2 separate regions of the Homo sapiens genome follow, and region 2 is linked to region 1. The links are contacts of gene promoters, found by promoter capture Hi-C in human tissues and cell types (Jung and others, 2019). All regions are on one chromosome and are shown on one strand. Each heading gives the region's core, a stretch centred on a gene start or on the middle of the fragment in contact. The rest is flanking DNA. Distances are from core to core; before and after follow the strand shown.

Region 1 (6,352 bases), core at 301-2,800:
ACAGAAACACAGAGACATAAATGGAGAGAGGCAAGTGATAGAGGAACAGAGACTAAGAGAGGCCAAGAGATATGCATAAAGATAATGAGAGAGACAGAAAAACAGTGAGCGATCTACATATCTACAGATGTCTGTCTACCTATCAGCCATCTATCATCTATCACTCTTTCTTTCCTTCCTTCCTTCCTTTCTTTTTCTTTCTTTCTTTTTTCTTTTTCTTTCTTTCTTTGTTTCTCATCTATTATCTAACATCTATCAACATCTATCTATCATCTATCTATCTATCTATCATCTATCATCTGTCTATCCATCATCTATCTATTCTTCTATCATCTATCATTGATCTGTCTATTATCTATCATCTATTATCTATCTATATCTATCATCTATCTACTATCTTCATAATCTATCATCTGTGTATCATCTGTCTATTATCTATCTATCATCACCTGTCTGTCAAGAGACTGTCATACAGAGACAGTGATAAAGAGAGATCAAGACACACAGGGACAGAGACAGACAAACACAGAGATAGGGAGAGCCAGAGAGCACATCACAGAAAGAGAGAGGCTGACATAGACTAGAGAAAGAAAGAGACAGAACTAGACAGACACAGAGCTAGAGAAAGACAAGGGAGATTGAGTGGAGAGACAGTGAGATGGACACTGACTGAGAGACAGAGAGGGACATGGAAGGATGGAGAGAAAAAGGGTAAGAGGGACAGAGAGAGGGAGAGACAGAGCTAGACACAGAGACTGAGGGAGACGAGAATGACAGACAGAAACAGATACACAAAGACAGAGTCACATAGACAGAGATGGAGAGAGAGAGAGAGAGAATAAGAGAGGCAGGGAATATTAGAGCCACACAAAGAGACGGGTAGGCTGCAAAGGGCAGACCAAGAGAGACTGAGGCCGGGCACGGTGGCTCACGCCTGTAATCCCAGCACTCTGGGAGGCCGAGGCAGGCGGATCACTTGAGGTCAGGAGTTTGAGACCAGCCTGGCCAACATGGTGAAACCCTGTCTCTACTAAAAACACAAAAATTAGTCAGGCGTGGTGTTAGGCACCTGTAATCCCAGCTACTCAGGAGGCTGAGGCAGGAGAATCGCTTGAACCCAGGAGGTGGAGGTTGCAGTGAGCTGAGATTGAACCACTGCACTCCAGCCTCAAAAAAAAAAAAAAAAAAAAAAAGAGAGAGAGAGAGAGAGAAAGAGACGGAGACAGAGAGGAAGGGCACAGGCAGAAACAGTGACAGGAAAAAATCAAGTGTTGCCAACCATGGGGTTGCATTGCAGAGAGAGAAGCCACCTACTTGGTGAAGCACCAGTAAAGAAATCCCAGTGCTCAGAACAGGGACATGAGAGCTCTCAGAGGAAACAGCAAAAAAGATTCCTAGCCAGTCTCAGAGACAGAGATTGGAGCTGGCGACCCACCCTCTCTTGGGAGACACCCCCTCCTTCTCTGCCTCCCTCACCGGGGCCCTTTACCTGCTGAGCTGCAGGAGACACTGGCTGGGATGCGCTAGAGCCTGCAGCTCTGGGTGTGCTTGGGGGGTGGTGGGGCAGAGGTTGTTCTTAAGTTGTTTCTGCCCACACCCTCCTCCTTAACCCCACTTTTCTTGTTCTCGCTGTGAACTTTAAATCCCTCCCATCATCTTGCCATACCTTTCCTGCGGCCCTAGGGCTCACAGCCAGCTGGAAAGGTGCCGTGGGAGGGGGCTGCGCCTGGGGGCCCTCCTGGGATGGGGCAAAGCTTTCTTTCTTTCTTTGTTTTTTTTTTTTGCTTTGCCAGTTGGAGCCTGGGCCTGGTTTTGGGGTAGTCATGGGGCTGTCGCAAAATGATGGGCCAGGGATGGGGGCTGGGTTCCTTTGGTATTTGGGGCACTTGTTTCTTTTTCTCTGGGTTCAAGTCCATTTCTGCCACTGATGGGCCGAGTGGCCCTGGCTAAGTCCCTTTCCCTCCAGAGCTGGAGTTTTCTCTTTCTCTGGAAGCCTATTTTTTCATAGTTCTCCATGCTGTTCCCTGTCTCTTGCCGTGGGTCTCTGAAATGCTCTGTGTCTTGCTTTGCTTCTGCCTCTACAGTCTCTGCCTCTGAATCTTTTTGTCTCTCTGTGTCTCTGTCTCTCCCTCCTTTGGTGTCTCTGGGTCTTCATTTCTTATGCTCTCTGGGCTTTCTCCTTCTCTCTGCTTCTCTCCCTGATCTCCCTGTAAGTCCCTCTCAGTCACTGTCTCCTGATCTCTCTGGTCTCTCACTCTCTCTATCTCTCATGTCTCCACGAGTCAGACTGCACTTGGTGGGACTGAAGCCAAGCTGAGGCTGAAGGAGTGTTTAAGAAAAGGGCAGAGCTGGAAGCCACAGGGAAAAAGCCTCTCAGACTAGAATGACACTCTCTCCCACCACTGGCTCATAAACAGCCCTCCTCCTGCCCTCCTGAGCACCCTACTAGCCATGTCTACTCTCAGCTCCTGCCTTAGAAACTCACCCTAGTAGGCCAGGCGCAGTGGCTCACGCCTGTAATCCCAGCACTTTGGGAGGCCGAGGTGGGTGGATCACCTGAGGTCAGGAGTTCAAGACCAGCCTGGCCAACATGGTGAAACCCTGTCTCTACTAATAATACAAAAATTAGCCAGGCATGGTGGCTCACGCCTGTAGTCTGAGCTACTTGGGAGGCTGGGGCAGGAGAATCGCTTGAACCCGGGAGGTGGAGGTTGCAGTGAGCTAAGAACATGCCACTGCACTCCAGCCTGGGCAACAGGGTGAGACTCGGTCTCAAAAAAAAAAAAAAAAAAAAAAGAAGAAGAAACTGGCCCTAGTTACCCACCTCCTGGCCAGGTCACAAGGGCAGAATGCAAAACCTGGAGCTGGGCCAGGGCTCTGGTGCCAGGGGCTAGGCTGGGTGGAGAGCCCCTGCGGTCAAGGGTCTGGGAGGCCAGGTGGAGGTGTGGGTACCCCCACAGGTTCGTGGGTGTGCACCAGGATTGCTGTTCTCAGAGGGGCAGAGGAGGAAGTGTTTGGAGGTCCTGGGGAATTTGACACCCTAGGTCCCAGGCATATGGTGGGGTGGAGGTGGGGCCCATGCTGTTGTTTCAGTCCTGGATAGGCCGGTTGGGGCAGGTCCTGGAAGAGGGCTGAAGGCTTGATGATGGGATTATATAGCTCTAGTTTCCCTTGGCGTCTACTCCCTACTTTTAAGGGGAGGGTGTAGTGCTGTATCCACGCCAACCCTGTAAGCAACTTATCCCTCACCCTAGAACTTGGTTAAGAGGGGCCTAATGAGGCTGGGCGTGGTGGCTCATGCCTGTAATCCCAGCACTTTGGGAGGCCGAGGTGGGTGGATCACCTGAGGTCAGGAGTTTGAGACAGCCTGACCAACATGGCAAAACCCTGTCTCTACTAAAAATACAAAAAAAATTAGCCAGGCGTGGTGGTGCTTGCCTATAATCCCAGCTACTCAGGAGGCTGAGGCAGGAGAATCACTTGAACCCGGGAGGTGGAGGTTGCAGTGAGCTGAGATTGTACCATTGCACTCCAGCCTGGGCAACAAGAGTGAAACTTTGACTCAAAAAAAAGAAAAAAAAAGAAAAAAAAGATGGGCCTAATGGGACCACCTGATTGGGGAAACTGGGATTTATGGGAAGGGCAGTTAGTTAGTTTGTTTTGACACAGGGTCTCACTCTGTCACCCAGACTGGAGTTTAGTGGTGTGATCATAGCTCATTGCAGCCTCGATCTCCTGGGCTTAAGGGATTCTCCTGCCTCAGCTTCCCAAGTAGCTGGGACTACAAGCACGCATCACCACACCTGGCTAATTTTTAAAATTTTTAGTAGAGATGAGATCTAGCATGCTATGTCACCCAGTCTGGTCCCCAACTCCTGGGCTCAAGCGATCCTCCCACCTGGGCCTCTGGGGATTACAGGCGTGAGCCACCATGTGTGGCCGAGAAGGGGGGTTTTAAGAGGCTTTGAGTTCTGTTATTCTGACTTGCTCTCCTGCTACAGAGGGAACTTGGGGCAAGGAAGGGATGTATTGCAATTTCTCAACTCACTGCTGTTGATGTCTTGGGCCTTCATGGGTGGTGGGGGCTGCATCCTGTGTGTGGTAGGATGTTTAGCAGTGTCCTTGGTTTCTACTCAGTAGATGACAGAACCCACCCACTCATTCCCTACCAGTTGTTACAAACAAACATGACTCCAGATACTATTGAATGTCCCCTTGGGAGGAAAAAAATCAACCCAGTTGAGAACCGCTGGGGTATTGCAGAAAGCTGAAACACACTCCGTGGTGGAAAAATGCCTCGCCTCTCATTGTCCTCTCTTGGAACTCCCCCCGCCCTATTCCTATCCTTTTGTTCCTGCCTCCTCAAACTCCAAAACCCTCTTCAGTCACCTCACTCTTTGTTGATGAACCCGCTTCTTATCTCACGGAGAGAATGGCAGCAATGGGCAGTAAGCGGGCGCATCCTCCATCATCCTGTCCTCTTGCCCACTGGCATCTGGACGGCACATGCAGCCTTCCTTCCTGCTAGAACCACACAGTGTCCCATGTCAGGCTTAGGTGAGCCCCCTTCTGGTGTGCCAGATCCCATTCCATCGCCAACTGGAGGACTTGATTCTATTTACTGTGTCATAGTTCCTGTGAAGGTGTGTAGATGGAGTTTTCCCTTAACGATTTCTTTAGGTAAAATTTACCTGTGATGAAATACACACATGGTAAGTGAACATTTGCTGAATTTTGAAGGTATCGAAATCCCTGTGAAGATACAGAATATTTTCATCATCCAAGAAAGTTCTCTTGGAGCTGGGCGTGGTGGTTTGTGCCTATAATCCTAGCTATAGGAGGCTGAGGTGGAAGGATCACTAGAGGCCAGAAATTTGAGACCAGGCTGTGCAACATTGCGAGACCCCTGTCTCTACTAAAAAAAAGAAAAAAACAATAGCTAAGTGTGGTGGTGCACGCTTGTAATCCCAGCTACTCAAGGGGCTGAGGTGGAAGATCACTTGCACCCAGGAGTTCCAGGCTACAGTGAGCTATGAACACACCCCTGCACTCCAGCCTGGGTGACAAAGAGAGACTCCCTTCTCTAAAGTAATAATAATAATGAAAAGAGAACCCTCCTTCCTACTCCTTCCTAGTCAACCATGCTCCATCTCTTGTGGGCAACCATTGTTCTAGGTTTTTTTCTCTTCTTTTGAGACAGGGTCTTGCTCTGTCCCCCAGGCTGGAGTGCAGTGGTGTGATCATTGTTCACTGCAACCTTGACCTCCCTGGCTCAAATGATCCCCCGGCCTCAGCCTCCTGAGTAGCTGGAAGTAGAGGCCTGTGCCATCACAACTGGCTAATTTAAAAATTTTTTGTAGAGGCAGAGGTCTCCCTATGTTGCCCAGGCTGATCTCGAACTCCTGGGCTCAAGCAATCCTTCTGCCTCAGCCTCCCAGAGTGCTGGGATTACAGGCTTGAGCCACTGCATCCAGCCCTGTTCTAGTTTTTTCTTCCCACTATTGATCTACATTTCATATAAATGAAAATCTACGGCTGGGCATGGTGGCTCACGCCTGTAATCTTAGCTTTTTGGGAGGCTGAGGCGGGTGGATCACCTGAGGTCAGGAATTTGAGACCAGCCTGGCCAACGTGGTGAACCCCTCTCTCTATGAAAAATACAAAAATTAGCTGGACTTGATGGAGGGTGCCTGTAATCCCAGCTAGTCGGGAGCCTGAGGCAGGAGAATCACTTGAACCTGGGAGGCGGAGGTGGCAGTGAGCCAAGATCATGCCACTGTACTCCAGCCTGGGCGACAGAGCGAGACTCCGTCTCAAAAAAAAAAAAAAGAAAAGAAAATCTACAGCATTTCTTCCATATACCAAGCCTGCTTCTGGGAAGCATACGTAATGCTTTTGAGAGTTAACCATGTGTTACATACATCAGAAGCTCATTCCTTTTCATTGCAGAGTAGCATGTCACCGCATATAGATGTGCCACAATTTGCTTTTCACCAGTTGATGGAAATGTGGATTGTTCCCAAGGTCTGGCTATTTTGAATAATATGTATTATTCTTGGCATATATGCATATGTCTTTGTGGGGATCTATGTTTCGTGTATCTGGATATATCTGTGAGTGTGACTGCTGGGTTCTATGATGAGTGTATATTTATAAGAAACTTCCAAACTCTTTTCCAAAGTGGCTGTGTCATGTTTTCATTTCCTGTGTGATTTGTTTTCTTCTCTCTATTGAATATTTTTCATAAAGAGCCAATAAGCTGGCCGGGCATGGTGGCTCATGCCTGTAATTCGGCACTTTGGGAGGCTGAGATGGGCAGATCAATAGAGATCAGGAGTTCAAGACCAGCCTG
Region 2 (6,352 bases), core at 1,855-4,354, 260 kb after region 1:
CGCAGATACTGCCTAACTCAGCACCACACTCCAGGAGGCCATGAAGGATTAATTTCCTATTCACAGCTCCATGGGGTAAAGCTTGGCTGTGCTGAGGAAGGGATGGCGAAGGAGGTTCCCAAAGACTCTGTCCCTTTCCTCCTTCCCAAAGGAAAAGATTTGTGAGCTTTAGACTAGAGAATGTAAAAGCAAGGAATGTGCTTAGGGAACATCTCATCCATCCGCTTCATCCTACAGATTAAAGAGAACAACTACCATTCATTGAGCACTTACTGCCATGTACCTCATCTGCATTAACACTTATACTTCTCCCCTAAATAGCCAAAGAGGTAGGAGCTGTTCTTGGCTCCATAAGACTCAGAGAGATGAAGTCAGCTGTTCAAAGCCACACAACAAAGAAAGGATAAGGTTAGGATTCCAATCCAGGCCTTAATCATTGCACCATCCATTCAGAAAGGGAAACTGAGGCCCAGCAAAGGAAAGGGATCTTCCTGGGCTCGCCACTAACTCACTCTGAAAGCCTGTTCCCAAGACACTGCCCACTGGGACAAGTCCCTCCCACATGATTTCAGACACCATTCTCTCACTCCATGCTCTAGGGTAATCAACAAGTCCAAAATTCATTGACCTCTATGTCCACAAATACTAGAGTTCTCCCAACCTGTCTCTCCCCATCCCCTCCCTGGCCAGGTCATGGCAACCTGCTGATCACTCAGTGCACTTCCTAGTGCCAACCCCAGTGAGAAACAAACTCCCCAGATTTCTGTCTCCCACCTTTTTAAGAAACACGAAGGAAAAGGAGGAGCCAGGCCCAGGTGCAGACTGGTGAACAGGATTAGAGCGATTGATATCTGCCAAGCTGGTGCTAATCTTCCTTCCCACCTCTTCCCCTCCAAAATCAACAAACAACTTTCCTCTCTCTGCCTTGTTCTCTGACCTTTGTTCCCTCCACACAGGTCTCAGAGCTCAGCATCCTAGAACAGTTTGAGCAAGATGTCAGTCCTGGGGGTGCCAACCTCACCCACCTCCACTTGTCCAAAGTTGGTGACCCAGAGGACAGGTGCAACCCTAAATGGTCCAACCACCACAGCCTGTCCTGTGGCCATCTGGGGCCCCTCTCAGGGTCTGGCTGAGGCTCATCTCAGACCCACATAGGACCAATATCAGCACCTGCCTCATGCTCATGTCACAGCCCACTGGGACCAACCTCAGACCCTATATGGTGCCACCCTTACGCCCTCCTGAAGCAGGACACTCTTATGCCCTCAATGACACCTGAGACAACACACAGAGCCCTCTTGGCACCAAACATGACTTCAATATTCTCCTGGTGTCAAGTTCAGTGCCAACTTGTTTCCCATCCTCGCATACACCTGGGGGCAGTCCCAAAGCCAACACGATGCCTTTCCCTCCCTGGCCATACCTGATGCTGATATCAGAACCCACCAATGTCATCAGTGTGTCCACTGCTGATGCCAGTCCCAGCACTCACCTCCTGCTAAGGCTGGCCTGCACTTGACTCCCAGGGTGATCTAGGCCAGTCAATGAAGGGGGGTGAGGAGAAAGTTCACATCCCAGCTCCCTCACTTACTCCCTGTGTGACCTCACTCAAGAGGATTTATGGAGTCTAGATCTGCTCATCTTCAAAATGAGGATGATCATGATGAACCAACCTCATTGTTACAAAGATTCAACCAGATCATACACACCTAGACTTAATCTTCCCGTATACGACCATGCTCACCAAAGGGTAACTGTCCTGTTTACTAAGGAAGAATTTCCCTGAGGGAAGGACAGGAGGGCTACTCATCCCTTCTCCACTCACACCCACCCCAGGATCTGCCTCTGTGCCTAATACTGGAGTTTACCCCAATCTCTTCTGCCACTGTTCCCTCTGCCTGCTAATAGTAGTAGCCCCTGACAAAGCAGGAATCATTCTTAAAGGAGACTTAACTCACCCTCGAATGTGATCTTCTCTTCCCAAACACTCCCTTTCCACTGGCAGGAAAACCAAATCCAGAAAGGGGAACTAAGTACACAGAGCAGGAGAGATGGGAGTTCAGGGCCACTCACACATGTCCCCTGCCCACTGTCTGTTTTCTGTCCTCTGTAGATCTTTATATAAAATGAGAAACATAAACAACAATCATAATATTAATAGGGATGATACAATCAATCTAGTGGGTTTCCCTGAGGATCTGGGTTGGAAACCAGCGGACAACCCTTGGGACACTTGAGATTTTTCCACCATTTGGGGGTTGTTATTACTATTTCTCCAGACCTAGCCAATCCCTCTGCCAACCGCTAACTCCAGGTACTCTTCTCCAGGTGTGGGGAAAGTTCCCCTGAAATATGGCTCTGGTCTTCCTCCCCTTCCCAATCAGAGATGGGCAGTGGAGGTTCTATGGCACCCATCCTGGCCTCACTCTGAGGTTCCAATGAGGATTCTGGGCATCAAGAGACAGCTCTGGGCAAAAGCAAAATCAAGTCAGCCCCTGGACCCAGTGCTGGGCTGCTGGGCTTTCTGGGAGAACCCGCTGGGCTTGCTACACACTCCTCCTCCCAGAAACTCCACACCCACAGCCCTGGGTCTTCCTAGCCCCGAGACTTTCAAGTCCATATGCCTGGAATCCCCCTTCCTGAGACCCTTAACCCTGCATCCTCCACAACAGAAGACCCCTAAATGCACAGCCACACTTTGTCTTACCCTAATAAAACCCAGACCTTTGGATTCCTCTCCCCTGGAACCCCCAGATCCACAACTTTGGGGTGCATTCTCACTCTCAGACCCCAAATCCAAAGCCCAAGTGCTCCCCTATGCAAATATTCCAAACTCCTCAGTTCTACAGCTTATCTGTTGCCCCCTCCTAAATCCACAGCCCTGCGGCACCCCTCCTGAAGTACCACAGATTTAGTCTGGAGGCCCCCTCTCTGTTCAGCTGCCCTGGGGTCCCCTTATCCTCCCTTGCTGGCTGTGTCCCAAGCTAGGCAGGATTCATGGTGGGGCATGTAGTTGGGAGGTGAAATGAGGTAATTATGTAATCAGCCAAAGTCCATCCCTCTTTTTCAGGCAGTATAAAGGCAAACCACCCCAGCCGTCACCATCTATCATCCCACTACCACCATGCTGGCCTCAGGGATGCTTCTGGTGGCCTTGCTGGTCTGCCTGACTGTAATGGTCTTGATGTCTGTTTGGCAGCAGAGGAAGAGCAAGGGGAAGCTGCCTCCGGGACCCACCCCATTGCCCTTCATTGGAAACTACCTGCAGCTGAACACAGAGCAGATGTACAACTCCCTCATGAAGGTGTCCCAAGGCAGGGAGATGGGTGGCACGGGGTGGGGGCTGCCTAGTTGGCTGGGGCTTTGTGGCAGGGGGTTGACCAGTGTGGACCAGAGTCTTAGGAAATGGAGTTTTGGAGTTTCAGCATCAGAAAGACAGGATCTTGGGATGTCCAGCTCCCTGACTGTGAGAACCTGGGTGCGAAGCATCCCAGCACATGACATCTCGGTGCTGGGCCCCATTCAGAGTGGAGGCTTCTCCCTCTAACCACTCCCACCCACCTCCATCAGATCAGTGAGCGCTATGGCCCCGTGTTCACCATTCACTTGGGGCCCCGGCGGGTCGTGGTGCTGTGTGGACATGATGCCGTCAGGGAGGCTCTGGTGGACCAGGCTGAGGAGTTCAGCGGGCGAGGCGAGCAAGCCACCTTCGACTGGGTCTTCAAAGGCTATGGTGAGGGGGTGCCCAAGAGGGGGAAGGTGGCCAGGTGGACACGAAGGTCTCAGTGTTCCCAGCCTTCTCCCTGACTCTCCTGCCAACTGGAGGCTAAGGCAGAGTCCCCAGTCTGGTCTTCCCTCCCCATCTCCCTTCATTGTGGCCTCTCCATGTGTATCCCTCACCTGTCTCCAGCGTCCCTGTCCTGATTCCTCCCTGCCTCTCTCTGCCCCACCTCCTTATTCTCTCTCACTGGAGTCTCCTCTTTCCCCTCTCTCTCCATCTCTAAGGACATCCTGGGTTTCTGTTTTCCAGCCCTGGTTCTCTGTCTTCATTTGTCTTTTTGTCCCTCTTAGCTTCTGGGCTTCTCTGTGTTTCTCATCTCTCCGCATCCCTTTCTCACTTCTTCCTCTGTCTTAGGATTTCAGGGTATTCCTACTTCCACATCTTCAGCCTCCATCTCCTGGTAACAGTCTCTCTTCCTTCCAGACCCTCTCTGTTTCTATCTCAATATTTTTCTCTCTTCTCCAGCTCAGCTTAAGAATCTTTCACCATTTTTATTTCCTCCTCCCAGATCTCCCCATATCTCACTTCCCCTCCCTCCATCCTCTTCCTCCATCACTCTCTTTCTCTCCCCACTTCCTTCCCTTCCTCCATGGAGTGTCCCCTTATCCCTCTGTTTCTATGTGCATCTCTCTGTCTGGCCTTTCTGTTTCTTTTCTGATTGTCTTATTCTTTAAACCTGGTCTCTCTCTCTCTCTCTCTCTCTCTCTCTCTCTCTCTCTCTCTCCTCTCTCTCTTCTCTCTCTCTCTCCTCTCTCTCTTCTCTCTCTCTCTCTCTCTCTCTCCTCTCTCTCTTCTCTCTCTCTCTCTCTCTCTCTCTCTCTCTCTCTCTACCTCGACATCGTGTTTCTCTGACTGAGTTTGCAGCTCTGCTGGGCAATGGCGCTGAATCCATCTCTCTCCCACCCTACTCCCTCTCTCCTCCACCCTTGGGGAGCCCCTTGGAGCTGCTCCGCTCCTGCCCCTGCCGCCCCCTGGCCTGTCTCCATTCCCGCGTTCACCTCCCCAGGCGTGGTATTCAGCAACGGGGAGCGCGCCAAGCAGCTCCGGCGCTTCTCCATCGCCACCCTGCGGGACTTCGGGGTGGGCAAGCGAGGCATCGAGGAGCGCATCCAGGAGGAGGCGGGCTTCCTCATCGACGCCCTCCGGGGCACTGGCGGTGAGCAGGGGACCCCGAGTGCGGGGGCAGGAGAAGGAAAACACCCAGGACGAGGAACCCGCGCGCGTTCTGCCTGGGGATGGGGACTAGGTGGGGAAAGGCGCCCGCACTTCCAGCCCTGGAGTCTGGCGCTGGGAATTTGGCTCAACAAGGCCCTGCCTCCTGGAATTCTGACTCTCCTCAGACCTCTGAGTTGACTCTCTCCCCAACCCCCTTCTCCCGCCATACCCGCAGGCGCCAATATCGATCCCACCTTCTTCCTGAGCCGCACAGTCTCCAATGTCATCAGCTCCATTGTCTTTGGGGACCGCTTTGACTATAAGGACAAAGAGTTCCTGTCACTGTTGCGCATGATGCTAGGAATCTTCCAGTTCACGTCAACCTCCACGGGGCAGGTAACTGGCTGCAGCCCGGCCCGTGACGCCCCTACCACAACCTGCCAACTGCTCCCCTACCTGGAGACAGGTGCCCCAAACTCCCACCGCCCTCCAGACAGTGTCCCCTCAAAATCAGTCCCCGATATTGGACAACTGGACAGTTGCACCAGAACCCAGGATGGATGTCCAATACCCTGTCTCCAAGGACACCTGGATAGCTCAACAGATGCTCCCCAAAACAGAGCCTGCTGGCAGGATGCATACCCTCAGCTCAGCTCTCTCACCTGGGCACGTGTTCCCATCCCCAACTTACCGTAATTTCTAACAGATGCTCCCTACCCAGTTCTTCTGAATATTTTAACACCTGGACAAGTGACTGCGTCAACCGGCCTCCTGCATACCTGAACACCTGGTGCTGCAAAATCCAGCCCATCATAATCATTTCACATCTACACAAATGTCCCAGATTAGCCCACTGGAATATCTGGCCAAGCGCCCTCTACTTCACCCACTTAAATACCTGAAAACATGGACAGCTGCCCTAACCAACACCTTAAACACATAAATATCTAGACAGATTGTTCCCTGACACACAAATAAGTGTTCCCCAACCCTTTCCAATCACACACCTTACAGAGGTGCTCCCAGTGCATCCCACTTGGATAGGTAAACACCTCAACAGGTATCCCCTCCACTTCAACATCTTCACCAGCCCCACTTTAATACCTGAGCACCTGAACAAAAGCCCCCAATCCAGACCCAGTAAGTATCTGGACAGCTGTCTCCAACCAAGCCTACTTGAATGCCTAAATACCTAGACAGGTGACACTCACCTCATACCAGCCCCACCTGAAGAGCTAAACACCTGGACAGGTGTCTTCCAACTCAACTTCACTTGAATATCTGAACACCTAGATGTGTGCTCCAATCCAGCCTCGTTTAAATACCTGAAACCTGGATATATGTCTCAGTTCTTCTCACCTAAATTACTAGACCGTGGCCCTGGTACCTAACCTTCCTGAAAACTTAGATATAAGT

What was found. The method cuts DNA at HindIII sites, captures the fragments that hold promoters and counts their contacts. A contact is called where the count stands out against the background at its distance.
Region 2: a contact is called between the fragment with the promoter of CYP2A6 here and the fragment with the promoter of CYP2F1 in region 1, in 5 of the 25 tissues and cell types used here (H1 embryonic stem cells, adrenal gland, heart left ventricle and 2 more).

The regions. Positions count from the first base shown.
Region 1 is chr19:41,109,630-41,115,981 of GRCh38, reverse strand. It overlaps CYP2F1 (cytochrome P450 family 2 subfamily F member 1), which reads right to left and starts at 1,550. Exons shown (of 10, transcript NM_000774.5): 1 at 1,490-1,550. The HindIII fragment of the contact is 13,902 bases long and covers 1-6,352 here.
Region 2 is chr19:40,847,199-40,853,550 of GRCh38, reverse strand. CYP2A6 (cytochrome P450 family 2 subfamily A member 6) reads left to right here and starts at 3,104. Exons shown (of 9, transcript NM_000762.6): 1 at 3,104-3,304; 2 at 3,571-3,733; 3 at 4,788-4,937; 4 at 5,172-5,332. The coding sequence starts at 3,125. RefSeq lists enhancers at 678-712, 1,908-1,936, 4,746-5,245 and promoters at 2,989-3,125, 2,106-3,125. The HindIII fragment of the contact is 10,166 bases long and covers 1-6,352 here.